Linked DNA regions of Homo sapiens: regions 2, 3, 4, 5, 6 and 7 are each linked to region 1. The links are contacts of gene promoters, found by promoter capture Hi-C in blood cells and fetal thymus (Javierre and others, 2016). All regions are on one chromosome and are shown on one strand. Each heading gives the region's core, a stretch centred on a gene start or on the middle of the fragment in contact. The rest is flanking DNA. Distances are from core to core; before and after follow the strand shown. Region 1 holds the start of EPSTI1 (epithelial stromal interaction 1). Region 2 has its middle 25 kb from the start of LACC1. Region 3 overlaps CCDC122 (coiled-coil domain containing 122). Region 4 overlaps CCDC122 (coiled-coil domain containing 122). Region 5 overlaps LOC124903166 (a long non-coding RNA gene). Region 6 has its middle 5.7 kb from the start of ENOX1. Region 7 has its middle 48 kb from the start of LINC02341.

What was found. The method cuts DNA at HindIII sites, captures the fragments that hold promoters and counts their contacts. A CHiCAGO score of 5 or more calls a contact.
Region 2: a contact is called between a fragment that was not itself captured here and the fragment with the promoter of EPSTI1 in region 1, in 1 of 17 cell types (monocytes). The highest score is 5.9, in monocytes.
Region 3: a fragment that was not itself captured here is called in contact with the fragment with the promoter of EPSTI1 in region 1 in 1 of 17 cell types (monocytes); the score reaches 5.2 in monocytes.
Region 4: a contact is called between a fragment that was not itself captured here and the fragment with the promoter of EPSTI1 in region 1, in 3 of 17 cell types (M1 macrophages, M2 macrophages and monocytes). The highest score is 7.0, in M1 macrophages.
Region 5: a fragment that was not itself captured here is called in contact with the fragment with the promoter of EPSTI1 in region 1 in 4 of 17 cell types (M1 macrophages, M2 macrophages, fetal thymus and 1 more); the score reaches 9.3 in M1 macrophages.
Region 6: a fragment that was not itself captured here is called in contact with the fragment with the promoter of EPSTI1 in region 1 in 4 of 17 cell types (endothelial precursors, M1 macrophages, M2 macrophages and 1 more); the score reaches 9.1 in endothelial precursors.
Region 7: a fragment that was not itself captured here is called in contact with the fragment with the promoter of EPSTI1 in region 1 in 1 of 17 cell types (total B cells); the score reaches 5.5 in total B cells.

The regions. Positions count from the first base shown.
Region 1 is chr13:42,990,878-42,993,635 of GRCh38, forward strand. EPSTI1 (epithelial stromal interaction 1) reads right to left here and starts at 1,364. Exons shown (of 11, transcript NM_033255.5): 1 at 1,101-1,364. The coding sequence starts at 1,288. RefSeq lists enhancers at 1,378-1,497, 1,758-1,997. The HindIII fragment of the contact is 6,494 bases long and covers 1-2,758 here.
Region 2 is chr13:43,903,608-43,906,365 of GRCh38, forward strand. No RefSeq gene overlaps it. Among named protein-coding and RNA genes, the nearest start is that of LACC1, 25 kb to the left of the region's middle. The HindIII fragment of the contact is 1,159 bases long and covers 784-1,942 here.
Region 3 is chr13:43,856,180-43,858,937 of GRCh38, forward strand. CCDC122 (coiled-coil domain containing 122) reads right to left here. Exons shown (of 7, transcript NM_144974.5): 6 at 2,602-2,718. Among named protein-coding and RNA genes, the nearest start is that of CCDC122, 22 kb to the right of the region's middle. The HindIII fragment of the contact is 4,662 bases long and covers 1-2,758 here.
Region 4 is chr13:43,833,670-43,836,427 of GRCh38, forward strand. It overlaps CCDC122 (coiled-coil domain containing 122), which reads right to left. Exons shown (of 7, transcript NM_144974.5): 7 at 2,683-2,758. Among named protein-coding and RNA genes, the nearest start is that of CCDC122, 45 kb to the right of the region's middle. The HindIII fragment of the contact is 4,663 bases long and covers 1-2,758 here.
Region 5 is chr13:43,812,263-43,815,020 of GRCh38, forward strand. LOC124903166 (a long non-coding RNA gene) reads left to right here. Exons shown (of 3, transcript XR_007063773.1): 2 at 320-380; 3 at 2,003-2,554. Among named protein-coding and RNA genes, the nearest start is that of ENOX1, 27 kb to the left of the region's middle. The HindIII fragment of the contact is 3,770 bases long and covers 1-2,758 here.
Region 6 is chr13:43,791,308-43,794,065 of GRCh38, forward strand. No RefSeq gene overlaps it. Among named protein-coding and RNA genes, the nearest start is that of ENOX1, 5.7 kb to the left of the region's middle. The HindIII fragment of the contact is 340 bases long and covers 1,238-1,577 here.
Region 7 is chr13:42,375,726-42,378,483 of GRCh38, forward strand. No RefSeq gene overlaps it. Among named protein-coding and RNA genes, the nearest start is that of LINC02341, 48 kb to the right of the region's middle. RefSeq lists an enhancer at 2,284-2,363. The HindIII fragment of the contact is 1,771 bases long and covers 516-2,286 here.

The sequences.
Region 1 (2,758 bases), core at 114-2,613:
AGAGGCAGCACTTCAAAGGCAGTGATGTTGTGATAAACCATACTGTTGAGTTAAAGTTCATTCCATTGGCTAGAAAGAGAGGCTCATGACACTTGCTTAATAAATGTTTCCCGGATACTCACTGCAGTCCCTGAACCAAAGACCAGGAATAAAAGCTACCTATCTGTTCCTGCATAGAGCACATATCAACATCAGGGATGAGAGGTACTATGGTCACTCACCTCCTCACTCTCTCAGCTCCACTCCTCTGGTTGTAAGAGGCTAGTTTATCTGCGAGTCTTGCTGGGACGTAGGCTTGCTCCTACCTAGAGGCAGAATTTGAACCTTCTACCCCATATCACATTTCTTGTTGACCCTTACCTGTTAGTGTCTGATACAGTAATTCCGTTTAGGACACCAAGTTTTGTTTTTCTGTTTTGTTTTGTTTTGAGACAGTCTCGCTCTGTTGCCCAGGCTGGAGTGCAATGGCGCAATTTCCGCTCACTGCAACCTCCGCCTCCCGGGTTCAAGCGATTCTCCTACCTCAGCCTCCCAGGTAGCTGGGACTACAGGCACGTGCCATCACACCCAGCTTATTTTTTATTTTTAGTAAAGACTGGGTTTCACCATGTTGGCCAGGCTGGTTTCGAACTCCTGACCTCAGGTGATCTGCCTGCCTTGGCCTCCCAAAGTGCTGGGATAACAGGCTTGAGCCAACGCGCCTGGCCCAGCACCAAATTTTTAAAAACAGTAAGGGAAAAGTTATTTCCATACTGGTTGGAGTATGAGTTCTGGAGATACCTGGAAAATGACATCTTACTGGATGCCTAGGCAGTTCCGACACACCCATATCTTTCAATCCTGTAGCCAGTCACAAAAATCAGGAAAGTAGTATTCCTGGAAGGAACCGGGCTGGTTATTTACCAAAGGACTGCAAACTAGCCGACTCAATTTATAAGGTGCGGCATGGATACTTTCATTTAAGCAAATGAGCTTTCATTCAGTCAAAATCCCTGTTGTTGGGCCCCTGTGGTTTTAAACTCCAAGGACCAAGGTGCTTGTGAGTGAGTATGTTTGGGGCCCGGGCTCCCGCCCCGAAGCCAGGTTGTTAAAATACTCACCGCCTCTGGCCCGCGTGCACGACGCTCTCCCGCGAAGGGCCCTTAGGGGCTGCCTCCAAACCCTCTCTCTGGTCTTCCACGGGGCTCAGCTCCCCTTGCCGCCCAGAAGGGTCCTGGGGATCCCGGGTCGGGCGGGAGGCAGGGGAGGCGCCGAGCCCGGAGTTCACCACTCTATTGCGGGTGTTCATGGTTCACAGCCCGCGGGTCCCGGGCCGCCGTCGCTGCGGGAGGGATGCGGCTGGGACGCTTAGCGAGTCTCAAGATGGGATTCCAAAGTGCAGAGGCAGCGGTTTTAACAGCTGAGTTTCGGTTTCTCAGAATCAGCAGCAGACTGCGCCCGCCCCAGAGAACTTCCCCACGTATTCTCCACTGAGGCCCCGTCCGACCTTATCGCGGGTTAACAGCCCAGGATGTTGACTTGAGCTGGCTTGGTCGGCTACAGGTGAGACGGTTTAAAGTCTCACAATCACCTTAGAGGTTAATCAGAATAACTGGGATCAGCCACGGACACCTGGTGAGCGATTAGCCCGCAGAGTGACTACAATCCTGAAAGATACTTGAGAAACTGTTTAACAGGCAACTCTAATTTGAGGTTACCGCTGGATATTTGAGACTGTAAAAAATATATTAACCTTAAAATACCAGAGATTAGGTCAATAACTAAAATCATCTCAACAAAATGTCGCCTTTTATCAGTAATGACTGCTGTGTGGCTGTTACCAATGCACATACTTTCAAGTTAGAGGAAATGGAAACTGAAATCAAAAGAAAACAAAAACCTACAAAGCCGGAGAAGTAAGCTAAGGTAGACATGATTCTCCAGGCAGCCTTGCTAAGTAATTGACTAGACATTCGAGAACTATTAAAAATACCTGCTCTGTGCAGAACAGTGTGCAACGGTGATGTGGGGACATTTTAAAATATGGATGTGTAAGGCTCAGTTCCTGTAGGTTCAGGGGTGAGCTCTGGCATTCATATTTTTGAAAAGCTCCCAGATGATTCTGATGTGTGCCAGGGTTGGTCACCAGGGTCACAATGCCGTCTACACAAAGATGAGTGAAGGCTCTTCCCTCATGCTACCTGCATTCTAGGAGTATCCTAGTAGACAGGTAAACAAATGGGAATGCCACTTTGGGATAAATGAAATGACAGGCAGCTGTGGAGGCACAGAGAAACTGGGGATTAGCCCTCTGAGTAATTCAGGAACAGGGACATTTGAGAATGAGCCACCAAAGACATAGGAATTCACCAAGAAGAAGGAGATGCTATGGCAGAGGCTTGTCACTTAAAATGACATGGTGTGTACTTAATTCCAGGGGTTGTCATGTGGCTGGAGCACCCCAGTCCTAGGTCAGCAAGACAGTTAGGAGCTGGACTGTCTTCCTTATATTATTGGTGCTTAGAACAAAAAGACACATACAGGTTTGATAGCTAATGAAAGAATGAAATTGAAGGGTGGGCCAGGGTGGGACAGGAGAGGAGAAAATAATGACAAGGAACATGGTAGGAAAGTCAGTCAGGATTTCTATGCCATCCTAAGACATTAGGGTTTTGTAGAGTAGGCCAGAGTTTCACAAATTTCAGTAAGCATCAGAACCACTTGGAGGAGGGTGCGTTAAAACAGATTTATGGCCAGGCACGGTGGCTCACTCCTGTAA
Region 2 (2,758 bases), core at 113-2,612, 910 kb after region 1:
GCATGGTGGCACATGCCTGTAGTCCCAGCTACTTGAGAGGCTGAGCTGGGAGGATTGCTTCAGTTCAGGAGGTCGAGGCTGTAGTGAGCCATGATTGCACCACTGCACTCCAGCCTGGGAACAGAGTGAGATGCTGCACCCCTCCCCTGCCCCCCAAAAAGGAATATGGGAGTCATATGCCATATATATTAACATGGAAAACAAACAGTTCATATACAGGAGGTCCATAATTTGCAAAATACAGACAGTAATGACTTAACACTTTTCTACTAGAACTGCTAAACAACAACTATTTAAAAGAAGGAGTTTACTCTTAGATTTTCCGTTATATTAAATGGAATCTGGTTGGCATGATGATTCCTTTAATGAAAAACTACATAGTTTCCATCCACTGGCATAAGAGTGGAATAGAAATGTATAGCTAAATAACAGTTTATGGTCCATACTTGCAATATCATAGTCCATTTTGGGAAGTAACACCTAAACAAGTTCAGAGGAAAGCAATACTAATGGTGAGAGATCCCAAAGCCATATATGATCATGGAGGAATGGTCTCAAAGGGATTAGAAATGATTAGCATGGAGAAAATAAATCTCAGTGGCATAACATAGCACACTGCAGGTGTCTGACATACAAAATACCAAAGAGATTGGAAAACACAGAACCAATTAGTGGAAATTATAGGAAGGCTGATTTTGGCTTTGTATGAATGTTAGGAAAAACAATTGCCAATAGGCCTTAAACCTCCCAGAGCATTTTTTCCTGGGCATACCAAGAATGCAAAGCTTTGACCTTTTTTTAATGCCACCATTTTTCAAGATTGTGTTTGCAGAAAGCAACCTTAAGGGATAAGTTTAGGTCCCACTTTGGGAAAAAGAGCCACCTTACTTTCTGCTTATTATAAAAGCAGTGGATTCCCCAAGCTCAGTATTCCTAAGACACAAATCCACTATATGCACGAGATATACCTGGACCCTTCTATGGTGCCTCCATGGGACATAAGGAGAACTTACTCAAATATGATGTTCATGCTGCTTGCTAAGCATGAATAATGAAGTCTTCTATCTCATGTCTTCCGCCAACATTTAAGAAACAGTGATAGGCTAATTTATTAACTTGTAAGTATGGTGAGGTCAAGAAATCTCATACCCAACAATGGAGAACACATTAGTTAGCAGATTTCCTATCCAGAAGTGTTCACATGTGGATGTGTAAACTTCTTGGAGAAGATGATGTATAAACGTAGCAAAAAATAAAGTTTCAGACAAGTAGTTTTTCTTAGACTTTCAATGTTATTTCAGTTCCGTAAATTGTATTATTCCTTTTTAGGAAACACAAATATAATTGGACTTATCTACAGAATACCAGGACTCCCTAGGAAGTCTCTACATAAATATGGTCTCAATATTCATTTAAATGACCCAAATTCCATCCATTGTCTGCGTGTATTTCCACTCTAGTAAACCTTTAGTAGCTTTCAGATAAAGGGAAATCCAAGATTATTATGCCAAAAGTGTAATTCTCTTAGACTTCATGCCAGAGTTCTTAGCATCCAAGGCAGTCAAGATTACCATATCCAAGGTATATACTACCAATATGACTTAGTATTGTTGATCATATGACTGAGGCAGTGTTTGCCAAATTTTTCCACTGTCTAGTCTCTGCTATGACATCCCTCTTCCTTCCTTACTAGAAGTTGAGTATCTCTGATTCATCTTATTGGAAATTCACTGACATTAGTTTTATTAATATTAATAAGAAGTTAGTATCTATAGTGTTGGTAAGCACACATAATATTTTTCTCCCATTGCCAAAAGCCTCTGGTAATATTTATCAGAATACTTTGAAAATGTGTATTAAAGTCTAGTCTAGAATTTTGAATGAGTGGTGTAATTCAGTTTGGGATTACATAGGATCTATGGCCTTCACTGAATGCAAGCAAAGCTTTAACACTAGCATCATAGTCAAAACCTCTTTGTCCTCTTCGTTCGCAAATGCTTTGTGCATCACACAGATATATCCACTGGGTGGCAGTATGTACTCAAGAATATTTACTGTTTCTAGTTGCCTCAATCTAACGGAATTTAAAGATGTCAAACTTTTTTTATCTGGAAAATAGCCATTGTAGTGAATCTTAAGAAACAGTATTGTCTGAATGCAAGCTCCTCCCTAGAGATGATTATGGAGATTATAATAATGTTAATATTATATACTTCCTACCATTTACTCTCAATCATATTCTTTCTTCTGCCAACAATACTCTTAGCATGAGAACTGGTAAATACCTATTATCCTACCTCTTATTTCTGTAACCTATCTCTTAGTTCTAAGGAACTTGCCTGGTGATAGACTTTTCCCTTTCTCCATTTTGTTTCTTAAATATCATACCCTCTCCACAGTGAAATCAAGAGATAGACCTTTAAGCTTCTGTATAGTACCATATGTACCCCTTTAGTTCTGCACTACCTCCTAGACAAATAGAGCAGATTCTAGATATTCACATAGTCTTGCAAAGTCATATGGTTCTCTTTCACTTAAATTAATTCTGTCTGAAATGCAGAATGGCACCAATTAACTTGCTCTACGTAAGATTGTCTTCAATGAAGAGAGGGAAAACCTTCCAAGAAATTAAATTGTGTAATCAGGTAGGACTACAACTATGAGAAGAAATCACAAAAATAAACATATTTTAAAAACTGAAAATAAAATACTAACTTAGTTGTGTTAGATGGTGAAATTATGAAAGCTTTTGTTTCCT
Region 3 (2,758 bases), core at 147-2,646, 870 kb after region 1:
GAAACAACACACACTGGAGGGTGAGAGGAGGGAAAGGATCAGGAAAAATAACTAATGGGTACTAGGCTTAATACCTGGCTATTGAAATAATCTGTACAACAAACTATGACAGAAATTTACCTATATAACAAACCTGCATACATACCCCTGAACTTAAAAGTTAAATTAAGGCTGGGCGCGGTGGCTCACGCCTGTAATCCCAACACTTTGGGAGGCCGAGGCGGGTGGATCATGAGGTCAGGAGATCAAGACCATCCTGGCTAACATGGTGAAACCCCGTCTCTACTAAAAATGCAAAAAATTAGCTGGGTGTGGTGGCAGGCGCCTGTAGTCCCAGCTACTCCGGAGGCTGAGGCAGGAGAATGGCGTGAACCTGGGAGGCAGAGCTTGCAGTGAGCCGAGATTGCACTACTGCACTCTAGCCTGGGCGATGGGGCGAGACTCTGTCTCAAAAAAAAAAAAAAGAAAAGAAAAAATCTCTCAATAATTTGTTTTCATGTATAAAACTTTGTTGCAGGATATCTGACAAAAATCGGTGAACTGTATGGTATGTGAATTTTATCTTAGTAAAGCTGTTTATAAAAATCAGAATAGTGGCTATTTGATAAAAAGGGTAGAAGAGAACTTTCTGGACATGCTGGGAAAGTTCTATATCTTGATCTAGGTAATGCCAACATAAATATATGTACATGTTAGTCTAAATAAATCAAGCCATCCATTTATAATTTGTGTACTTACTCTTATGACAATTATACCTCAATAAAATATGTTACTGTAAAAAAATTAAAAGGTAATTTCACATTTCTTTCCAAAGTGCTTTTAGCAATTTACATTCACAAGAATACTGTATTAAAATTCCCACGCTCAACATCTCCCAACTGTAATACCGATAATCAGATGGGCTAAACATGGAACTTTGCTGTGGTTTTAATTATCAGTCTCTTATTGCTAATGAGGATGGTCATATTTTTCTTTATTTCTGATATTCATGGTTCAGAAAAATGGTCTTTTTATACCATTTGCCCAATGTTTCACTGATTTGACATTTTCTTATCTCTTTCTTATCACATACATGTGTTATAATAATCTAGAATGGAGTCTTGTTCTTTCTCTTGTGATGGTATATTCCCATAATCTGGAAATTTATGGCATAGTCAAAACTAAAGATATTTAACCACAGAATTTATGGAGTGTTTTTCTCTTTTAAAATAAATGCTTTTCTGACACAAATTTTTAAGTTTTTATCCTATGTTGTATTCAATACTTAGAAGTGTGTGTGTGTGTGTGTGTGTGTGTGTGTGTGCACGTGTGTATTATGAGGTAGGAATCCAGTTTTATTTCAACATTTTTCTTTATTTTTCCATAGAGGTAATCTATTTTGTTTTTACCACTCAAGGATGCATAATTTCTGGATTCTTTTTTTCATTAATAATTTTTTTCTGGCCGGGTGTGGTGGCTCACGCCTGTAATCCCAGCACTTTGGGAGGCCGAGGCAGGCGGATCACCTGAGGTCAGGAGTTTGAGACCAGCCTGGCCAACATGGTGAAACCCCATCTCTACTAAAAATACAAAAATTAGCTGGGCATTGTGGTACGTGCCTGTAATCCCAGTTATCTGGGAGGCTGAGATGGGAAAATCGCTGGAACCCGGGAGGCCGAGGCGGCAGTGAGCTGAGATCGCACCACTGTACTCCAGTCTGGGTGACAGAGCAAGACTCCGTCTCAAAAATAAAGAAAAAATAATAATAATAATATTTTTTTCTACTCTTTTACCACTGATACACTGTCTTACTATTTATTGTTTTATAATGAACCTTAATGTCTACAAGGGCAAAAAGAATCGTTATTTAGATTCCTAGTAAACTAAAAGGTAAAATCGTGATATTTTTTAATAGCGAATATGTAAAGATGAGGATTTTTATCTTTAATTTCCTCAGATGCTTTGTATTGTGTCAAATTAGTCAAAAACAAGTTGAAACATGCATATTTTTATTTTCCAAATTAATGTATTCAGGCAAAAATTATTTGCCCTTAATAGCATATTATTTTACATTTCTGTTCACCATTCATCCAAACAATAATGACAATAGAAGTCCACAGGCAGCACCACAACACATTATGAATTTACTCTGACTTTCAATTTTGCATATTTTCAGTTTGTTTTTTTAACTTGACTCTTGATAATTGCGAATATGAAGTCAGAGAGGTTTGGAAAGACGATGCTTTCCATTGTGTTTTATTCTATTTTGAGGAGTCTTTGATATCTAAGAATGGGCATCCTCTTTGACTACATAGCTGCTTTCTAGCCATTAATTGGGTATCATGTTCTTAGTGGAATGAGAAAAACCTGGAAGAACCCTCGCCCAGATTTAAATAGGAGTGAATGCTTGCATTGTTTGAACACATTCACATATTTGAACATCTTTGAATGAGGGGGTTATCTCTAGTTATCTATTAATGATTTGTATTTACTAAATTTTATAGTTCTTTCTTGTTCTTCAACTGTTTTGAGTATTGAGAGTAAACTATGGAAATATGAATATAGTGTTAAGTTTTAAAAATGGTCCCATAAAACATTGAAATCTAGATAATTAAGACTTACCTCTATTTCTTTTCTTAATTTTTCATGTGTCTTTTTTTCTTCCTCAAGAAAACAAGTTTTTTCAATGATAGATTCTTTTACAGTTATAATTTTATCCTTTAAGTTTGTAATGTCTTCCTGTATGTTGACAACATTTGAAATATAGAAGTCAAAAAAG
Region 4 (2,758 bases), core at 120-2,619, 840 kb after region 1:
CTCACGATGATCCTAAGCACCAGGAAGAATGGATTATTAGATCTCTGCAGAGGCCAGTGAGATCAGAAAATGACATTTGGTGCAGAGCAGTGTCCCTGATGACACAACAAGTCCACCAGGTACTTAGAACACTTCCATGCAGAAAAAAAACGAAGAAGAGGAGAATTTTGAACTGAATATTTACCTCAAAGAGACTGAGCTTTAAAACAGAAGCATGTGTGTGAAACGCCACTAAGCAAAAGAGCTCATATTCTAAGCTAGGTTCAATTATACAGAACTAAAATTAAAAATAACTTCAATTTTCTAATATTAGAGTTTATGATTGTGTTGAAATATCATATCCACTAAATCATCAGGCTTTGGATACCTCAAATTTTAGTTCTTAATTAATCTGAAATTCTCTATTATCTGAAATAGTTTCCAAGATAAGAAAGAACAGAGATATAGACCAATGGAACAGAACAGAGCCCTCAGAAATAATGCCGCATATCTACAACTATCTGATCTTTGACAAACCTGGCAAAAACAAGAAATGAGGAAAGGATTCCCTATTTAATAAATGGTGCTGGGAAAACTGCCTAGCCATATGTAGAAAGCTGAAACTGGATCCCATCCTTACACCTTATACAAAAACTAATTCAAGATGGATTAAAGACTTAAACATTAGATCTAAAACCATAAAAACCCTAGAAGAAAACCTGGGCAATACCATTCAGGACATAGGCATGGGCAAGGACTTCATGTCTAAAACACCAAAAGCAATGGCAACAAAAGCCAAAATTGACAAATGGGATCTAATTAAACTAAAGAGCTTCTGCACAGCAAAATAAACCACCATCAGAGTGAACAGGCAACCTACAGAATGGGAGAAAATTTTTGCAATCTACTCATCTGACAAAGGGCTAATATCCAGAATCTACAATGAACCCCAACAAATTTATAAGAAAAAAACAAACAACCCCATTGAAAAGTGGGCAAAGGATATGAACAGACACTTCTCAAAAGAAGACATTTATGCAGCCAAAAGATACATGAAAAAATGCTCATCATCACTGGCCATCAGAGAAATGCAAATCAAAACCACAATGAGATACCATCTCACACCAGTTAGAATGGCAATCATTAAAAAGTCAGGAAGCAACAGGTGCTGGAGAGGATGTGGAGAAATAGGAACACTTTTACACTGTTGGTGGGACTGTAAACTAGTTCAACCATTGTGGAAGTCAGTGTGGCGATTCCTCAGGGATCTAGAACTAGAAATATCATTTGACCCAGCCATCCCATTACTGGGTATATACCCAAAGGATTATAAAACATGCTGCTATAAAGACACATGCACACGTATGTTTATTGCGGCACTATTCACAATAGCAAAGACTTGGAACCAACCCAAATGTCCAACAATGATAGACTGGATTAAGAAAATGTGGCACATATACACCATGGAATACTATGCAGCCATAAAAAATGATGAGTTCATGTCCTTTGTAGGGACATGGATGAAGCTGGAAGCCATCATTCTCAGCAAACTATTGCAAGGACAAAAAACCAAACACCGCGTGTTCTCACTCCTAGGTGGGAATTGAACAATGAGAACACATGGACACAGGAAGGGGAACATCACACACTGGGGCCTGTTGTGGGGTGGGGAGAGTGGGGAGGGATAGTATTAGGAGATATACCTAATACTAAATGATGAGTTAATGGGTGCAGCACACCAACATGGCACATGTATACATGTGTAACAAACCTGCACATTGTGCACATGTACCCTAAAAATTAAAGTATAATAAAAAAAGAAAGAACAAGGAGAAAAAGTTTCTTTTTCAAAGAATTTTTGACTGTCATAAAATGTAAAATAGGTATATGTATTAAGGATATTTTAGAAAACTACATTAAAACTTACTTTTAAAAATAGAGCACATTATCTTAAGCAGATTACAGCTATTTTCTTCATATCTGAATTTAAAAACAAGTTTTTGAATCTATAACTCAAGGTGTTATCATTTACAAATATTTTGAATCTCAATATAAACTTTAAAACACTTTAGAAAACTATAATTTTTTATAAGCGATAACTACACTTAGAAAATATAATAACTTTTTAATATGCAAGTTACATTAAAATATACTTATATAATCAGCATTTGGTTCTGGCTTATCTCCAGCCGAGTATAGTGTGTACTCCCCACAATCTGTAGGTTTCACCATTTTCACTGTAGCTTTGTTTCTGAGTCATGGACCAAAGCTGATTGTGTTACAGGATAAGCTGTTTGAAGTGTAAGCCACATTAAGCCATGCTAAGCCACAATAAAACTATTACTGTTAGACATAATAAGATTATTAATATCAGGTTTTATATCAGCTCCACTTACTGAATTTTAGCACATAGAAAGGTAAGGAGAAAATGGATTTTAAATATTTTTTGATGCTGTTTGAAATTATTTAATCCTACAAATGAATATTTTAAAACCATATCTTCCTATTTGTTTTTGTTTCTAAGTATTTGACTCAATGGAACCATGAAAAGGAGGAGCACGTTTATCTTGAAAGGGACAAGTTAACATTTGATTTATTGACATTTTGCCTTTCAGTGAGAAAAAATATGTTAGTCTATAGTGAGTAATACTCTTAAGAGTTACATGATGTTATAACTTTAATTTAGTCACAGAATACGAATAATTTATAGAAAGTGAACAAAATATTTTATTCATCGTATCACTCAAAATATGTTATTTTATAACAAAGAAAAATGATT
Region 5 (2,758 bases), core at 107-2,606, 820 kb after region 1:
TTGACATGAATATGGAAAGGGCAAAGGACAAATAAAATGGTGAGGAAAAAATATAAATTATATATCAAAGCCATATGCTGTTCTGCTTTGATTTCTAATGGAACTTAGTCAATCTTGAGCTGATTGGGTTTTGCTGTTGGACACAGAACATGAATGTAACTTAAATGAATCACAGCATATTTTATACAGCATATGCTTGCCTTCTTCCCTGTGCTTTATGTGGGCTGTGTAAGAGGGGAAGCAGAGAACTCACCATATTTATAATTAAATAATTAGCCTAATAGCTCTTACATATCTGCCTTCCATGCTCAACTGGAAGCTCCATGACTGCCGAAACTATGTCTGTCTTTTCACTGTGGATCTGAATTTCTTCTCCACAGGTACGTTCTTGTTATATGAATGAGTGAATCTGTCAAAGTGTTAGGTATGTTGGGAGGTGTAGGTCAGGAGTGTGGCAGCCAGGACCAGGCTACTATTCAGCCTCTTTGTGTGAAGAGCAGGGGATTTGGGAGGGGTGAGTAGATCTGGACTAAGTCGTCTCCTGAGATCCCTTACAACCCACCCAACTGTCCGGGGGCTTTCTGATTCAGGGTCAGTCTGGTCTTACATATGACCTGCCATAGCTTTGAGGGTTATAAGATATATTATGATAGGTTTTGTTCAAGCACTTGTCAAAACAAAAAATTACCAGGCCATTTCTTTTCACTTTCAAGAGGCATGTTAAAATGGCATCAACCCATTAGTAGCATTTATACCTATAAACAATAGAAACATCTCAACTTAGTGTCTGCCTTTAAGAGAAAAATTTTAAAAATTAAATTGCCACTTCTTCATATTTATTTAGCATATTCACAGGCTAAAAAAGAAATAATTGCAGGTCTCTTAAAGGCCTTATGGCTTACTCCAGAGTCAGTAGTTTCCAGTTTAACTTGGACTAATGGGTTGGTCAGCTAAGGATTGCTTTGGAGAGGGACTTACTTTAATGATTACAGACAACACTGATTCTTAAAGACTTCATGTTCTGAAAAGCATTATAATGATGGAATGATTATAAATAATAATATTCATAGGACACTTTATAAAGAATCCTGCCATAGTTATGATTTCATGTCTAAACCAACGCAGGGAGTAGCACATGAACCAATGGTGTAGATCCTCAGAGACATGTTTCCCTGCTTCCCGACTCCCACCCAGCCTCTGAGTCTCCATACAGCTTGGACTCAAAGATTCTCTTTTATTCCTTCTCCATGATAGTTAGACCCCCGTGCTCAGTTTCGTGGTTGTTCCAGCACGCAAAGGCTATGGTTTGAAATATCCCAGCCTTTCCTTTCTATTTCATCCATATCCTGCCCATCGTCTCAAAGATAGCTCATCTTGTTCACTCCTTGAAAATTTGTGAAACATATTTGGTATTTCATTATATTAACTCTTTCAGTGCTGCTGAACTGTTTCATCTGCTTCAGGTATTAGTGGCAGGAAGGAGAGGACCATGCCTTGCACATTATGTTGCAGAGATTCCCTTAGTAGATGTACACTTGTTGAATAAATGGTCCAGAATCATACCAATTGGAATACTTTCTTAAATCAAGTTACATGTTTGTATGGTGCCCTAGAAAATGTCTAGCACTTCTTAGGTGTTCAATAAATATTAATACTGCACTTGTAACCTGAGATGTTGAATTTGGTTTTAAAATAAGCCAACAAAGTAAGCAAGCTACTTCCCAGGTATGTTACCTTTTATAACTTCTATGTTTACAACTCTACTACCATATTGAGAGAATAACTGTTTAACATGATGACCCTGTGGTAAAAATCCAAACTCATTAAAAAAGAAAAGTTTGAGTTTCAAGTCAGTTACAAGTAAAATCAAATAAAGGAAGAAAGGAAGGAAAGCATGAGGGAGGGAAGGAGAGAGGGAGGGAGGAAAGAAGAAAAAAAGAAAAATTAAAATGCATTTGACATATTGAATGTATTAATTCAATTGCCAACCATTCTTTTGCAGTGCCTCCTAATCCTGGACAACAGAACATTGCTGGACAACCATGGCAAAGCTGAGCTCAGTGGGCTCACCATGGATTTACTCTGATCTGCATTACTTAGATCATTAATGTCAATCCCTTTTTTCCCAGTAGCTTTATGTCTGTTCACATCATTTCATTCTCAATTGCACTAGCTCTGTGCTTTTACCCTTAGCTGTTATCCTCACCCTCTATCTAAACAAGAGCTCCTTTGATTTCCTTCCTCCTCACTTTAAAATTTTCTTTTGCCTTTGATCGTTCTCTTATTTTTCTCATCCTGTCTCAGGAATGCTCTTTCTTCCCAAGGCTATGCCTTCCTCTCTGTATGGATCCTGTCCCCTCCTGGCTTTCCAGGACTACTGCATGAATTACCTTCTATTTTCTTGCATCTTCAGTGTCACCCTTTTCATGAGCTCTGCAACAGTCCTATTGCCCAAGCTCTAGAAAATCCCCCTCTTAAATTATTGTATTTCTAGCCTTTCATTTACTATCTCATTTCTCAAAAGTGCAATAAACATGTAATTTCCCTTTTTCTACTCTTTTGGTTTGAGGCATATTATCCTTCTATTTCTCACACCTAAGGCCTCAAATTCCACCTGTAAGGGGGTGAGCTTGCACTTAGGTTCTAGGCTAAATCTAGTCACAAGAAAGCAACTAGTGCAGTTAGATTCACAGTTTAGAGTGTCTGTGGAAATGCTTCACCTTGGGATGGGATTCTGCCTGCATTACTGTTACTTAAG
Region 6 (2,758 bases), core at 158-2,657, 800 kb after region 1:
TTAAGAGCTACTGCCTAATATAGATTAATTGCACCATGACATTTTATGGCTAAAGGGAAAAGAATTGGTAGATTTACTAATCTCACTTCTATTTTTAATCTAATAATTTATTTGATTGTCAACACCAAGAAGATGCATAAGCAAATCAGTAAACTGAACAAGTATTTATTGAGTACCTACTTCATAATCAGTTCTGTTCTTCAAGCTGTGTTTGTTACCAATAAAGTATAAAATACGATCTATCTATTCCTTTAGGGAGCCTATAGTGTAGTAATCATTATTCTTGAGGACAAAAAAAGTGAACATAAGCGTAATTTATCACTTGACCAGGTGCAACAAACTTCAATTTGAATTACCAGTAGGACTTAATAAAGCTATTTGTTAAATAAATAAACCACTTGGGTAATAATTGATTATCAGTGGCCAATGTATATATGCATATTTTCATATTCATATTCCCTAGTAGCAATCATTTAGATGATCACACCATATATAATGTAAAAAGCTAGTCTATTGCTGTAGCATGAATTTTAGATTGAGGATATGAAGAAGTTGACAAGGAGAGATAGACCATGTGGGCAATGGCAGCTGTGGATTACCTTTCCCTGGGATCACTGGGCAGACTGGAATAAGTTAGAATATGCTAGAGCTTATATTTAACCCATCCAAGAATTTATAGGGCAACCCATGAACAGTATTTTGAAATTTCTATGTCTACAAAAACCCAGAAGTCTCTTCTTGTATAATTTTAACATTTTATTATTACTCTCCTTACAATTTTTAAAATTTTCACTTTCTCAATTTCTTTCCACTTATTAACACAGAATTATTTTTAATGTAGTTTTTAAAAACACAACTTCTTCACTCAATTCCTGACACAATTATGAAGAGTTAAAAAGCTCTTATAGAGTGAATTGACATAAAGCCATTTACTTAATTAGAGCTGTTTGAAGCCCAACCATCCATGTATTGAATGCTTTATATAACCTGCCTCCCGATGGGCCCCAGAGGCTTCATGTGGGGAAGCTAGGACTGTTAGTGCTATCTTTTGATTTTTCAAGAGGTGGTCTTAGCACAGCATTAAAATAACACAGGATACTGAATCATAAGATCTGAGTTCAAATCCCAGCCCAGGCAACAACTTGCTGTGTGAGATTGTGCACCACACTTTCCGAGCTTCACTTGCCCCCGTCTGGGAAATGTGGATAATAACACCTACCTCATCAGTTTCTTAAGAAGCTTACATCAAGTAACATTAAGTTACATTAAGTAACATGAGAAAGAGTCCCTTTGTTGTGTTGTAGGAATTCAGTAAATCTTTGTAGACCTTGGATCTAAATCAAAAGTGTGTGGCAGAAAATTGGAACACAGTCATGAATAGGAAGCTCCTGTAGAAATTTTAAATCTTTATTATAATGTTGAACTGAGCTGATTTCCTGGGAGTCCCTTCCAAGGATATTTTAAGAAAACCACAGACAACCAAAAGTTGGCAGAAACTGACACATGCAGGAAATTGTGGATTCCATAATTCTAGAGGTGCTGTAATTCTATAAATTCTGCTGCTGTTACAAAACCCAAGCTTTGTGTTCATTTGTTTTTAATTAGTCTCTGTTTTGTTTCTGTCACACATATTCTGCCTCCCCAATGGTGCTTTGCCCTGCTAATTTAACTATGCGAACATTCATTTTATAGATTAATACCAACTGTGAAAATGTCTCTCTTTTAAACAAAAATAGTTCACTGTCCTCTCTTCCCCACCACATCCCAATTGTAAAAGTAGTGTGTGTGCTTACGGAGAAAAAATAGGCAATACAAAAATGTATAAAGAAAAAGATTGGCCAGGCGCGGTGGCTCACGCCTGTAATCCTAGCACTTTGGGAGGCTATGGAGAGTGGATTGCCTGAGCTCAGGAGTTCGAGACCAGCGTGGGCAATATGGCAAAACCCTGTCTCTACTAAAAACATAAAAAATTAGCCAGGTGTGATGGTGGGCGCCTGCAATCTCAGCTACCTGGGAGGCTGGGGCAGGAGAATCGCTTGCACCTGGGAGGCGGAGGTTGCAATGAGCTGAGATCGTGCCACTGCACTCCAGCCTAAGCAACACAGCGAAACTCTGTTTCCAAAAAAAAAAAAAAAAATGCAGTAAGTAGTATTGCCTCTCAGGGACCAAGTACGATTACTATTTTGGTGTATACCCTTCCAGACATTTTCTTTGCATATATTTGTTCTACTTAAAAGTCATTCAGGTTGGCCAGGCACGGTGGCTCACGTCTGTAATCCCAGCACTTTGGGAGGCCGAGGCAGGCGGATCACTTGAGGTCAGGAGTTCGAGAACAGCCTGACCAACATGGTGAAACCCCTGTCTCTACGAAAAATACAAAAAATTAGCTGGGCATGGTGGCATGTGCCTGTAATCCCAGCTACTGGGGAGGCTGAGGCAGGAGAATCGCTTGAACCCGAGAGGCAGAGGTTGCAGTGAGCCAAGATCAAGCCATTACACTTCAGCCTGGGGGACAGCAAGACTCTATCTCAAAAAAAAAAAAAAAAAAAAGTCATCCAAGTCAAGATTCAGCCATTTTTAATGTTACCATTTTAGAAACAAACAGTTAAAACACTTTCACAAAAAGGCTCAAATGTGTTTCTTTTCCTTTCCTACACCTTCTTTCCAAGATAGGCTCTTTGCTCAGCAAGTCCTTTTTTTTTTTTTTTTTTTTTTGAGACGGAGTCTCGCTCTGTCGCCCAGGCCGGACTGCGGACTG
Region 7 (2,758 bases), core at 151-2,650, 620 kb before region 1:
TACCTAAAGGAATATTGACATTCTACAGAACTATGTCCTTCTTGCATTTTTGTAGTTGTCATGGGAAATTAAGATCAGATCAGAGTCATAGCTTATAGTATAGGAAATATATGGTTCAAAAACAGCACAAGGTATTTGATGTGGTCACCAGATAACCTTGAATTGTAGACCCTTGCCAAACACTGCAGAAATGCTTTGGGCTGGAGTGTTCTTGCTTCACAGACTTCTTCATTTTATGATTGCCAGAGTCATTGAAAATAAATTTTGGATTGTGCTAAAGGGAAATAACAAAGATACTATCTGGGATCAGTCTCTCAGATTTGACAGACAATTTCATGCTTTTAATTGATTCCAATCTTTGCAAAAAAGTGGAACGAAGTAATAGACAAAAATTAACAACAAAGATGCCAGAAGTGACTATCATTGCATGAAACTTTTGCTGTGTTGTTTGCAAATTGCGTTCCAGTACTATATTCTCATTTGTTGAAAGATATTAGAAAAGAATCCAATCCCCAAGCTTTGTAAAGATTTTGATGTTGTGGCATATAGTAATCGTATTCATTTCCCCCTTTATCCTTTTTGTATTATAATCTTCCAAGTTCTAATTGGGCACACAAACTCCTTTTCCTGGGGTAACTTAAGCTAGATATGTGATTAAATTCTGGCCAATGGGATGTGAGTTGCAACTTCTTGCTAATACCCTTTAAAAAGAAACTGATTGCTCTGTACTCTCTTTTACCCTTCCTTTGGGGCAGAATAAAGAGGAGGTGCTGCAGATAAGAGCAACATTCTAGGGAATGTTGCTAGGGCAACAAGTGGAAACACTTGGAAAAGTGTATTTGGCTCTATAGAAATTAGATTTAATTTTTTTTAAAAACAGAAGATGATCCTGGGTCCCTGGAGGACCTCATGGAGCAGAGTCAGCTTCTTGGCCTTGCCTTACCCACAACCTATGTGCTCCTCTGTTAAAAGGAAATATTTTTCCATTCTGCTTGAGGCACTGTGTTTTGTGTAACTTTGCTACAGCAACTTGGGCTATGCCCTAATACTAGATGTGTTCTAAATTTTCCACACTTGCTGTTTTCCCATTGGATGAAGGGCTTGTGAGACACAGCATATGTTAAAAAAAAAAAAAAGACTTCTCTATTACTCTTTTTCAAGGTGGCAGACAAAGTTCAAATTCACATTATAGGCTCTTTTAGTATATTACATGTCCTCAGCACTGGTACTTGGTTCCCTCCCTCCCTCCCTTCCTTCCCTCCTTCCTTTTTTCCTTCCTTCCCCTCCTTCCTTCCTCCCCCCACCCCCTTTGTCTTTCTTTCTTGAGACAGGGTCTAGCTCTGTTGCCCAGGCTGGAATACAGTACGTCCCATCCTTGCTCACTGCAGCCTCGAACATCTGTGCTCAATGAATCCTCCTGCCTTAGTCTCCTGAGTAGCTAGGACTGTAGGAGCATGCCACCATGCCAAGCTAATTTTCTATTTTTGTAGAAATTGGGTCTTACTATGTTGCCCAAGCCGGTTTTGAACTCCCTGCTCTTGACCTCCCAAAGAGTTGGGATTACACACGTGAGTCACTGTGCCTAGCCAGTACTCAATTTCATTTTGAAAGTTGTATTTCTGTTTTATTTTTGTTAAATGGAATTAAAATGTCTGTGCAGTGTCTATCATAACCTAGTACAAAAGCAATAAAACTATTGTAAGCACTAAGCAATGTGGTCATTATTGACTTCTTTTTCTAGCAAAGGAAAGAGATAGGAAAATGGCTTTTGCATGGGGAATTTAATGTGTCACAGAAAATGATATAGAAGATAATGTAAATTGTGATGATGTGAACGCGGAGTAGTTTGTGTCGAGCATGATGGCCAATGGCAGCTAACTATGCCCTTCTGGAAACAGATGCACCCCTTTGCGTATATCAAATCTCCAAGCTGCACTGCACCAAAAGAACCCTGGGCACCATGTTACTTAGCTGGAAGGAAATGGGGAAGCTGTGGGAACCCCTATAAAACTCCCTCTGACATATTTAGCCTGTGGCTTGTGGGTATTCACTCAAACTCCAGGAGTGTGGGTTACCTTTAGTCAAATCTGAAGGAGTTTTGCATCTGTCACCCAATGCAGAGCTGAAGGAGAGGGAGCAGGTGTGAAATACAACCCAGACTTCCTTTTTAGTCCCAGTGGGGGTACATTTTTGTCTCACTGTTACCCTTGGTAACTCTGGGATGGTAAATAGTGAGATGAGTAATTCAGAAAGTGGAAACGGAAAGTGTTACTATATCTGCTACGAAGCTTTGCATCAGAAAAGTACTTCCTTTGCTTCTAAAGAGACTTGAAGAGTTTTGGGCTTCTTCTTCTTCTCTCTAGGTAGCTTTTTATTATCTCATGTTATAGTTACTTACATAAACGTATTGCTGGGAATTCTAGTAGCACAGGGATTATAGGAGTTTCCTGTGATTTAACTAAATCACTGGTGTCTTCAATACCATGTCCATGCTTCCCCCACAAACATCAGAGAAAATGACTTCTTGGCATGGGAAGTTTATGAGTCCAGAAATAATCTATATTTAGTATTTTTGGCATGGAGCCCTCCATAATCTGGCTCCAGGCTGCCTTATTCCTAGGCTCTGCCTCTTCCCTCCGTGTGATATCATATCAGATGGCAGAGGCAATGGAACCATCAGACTAGATTGTGGTTTTGGGCCACAAAGCATGACCCATCAGTCTTTCAGATTCTTAGTAGATGGGATGACCCCATGAGC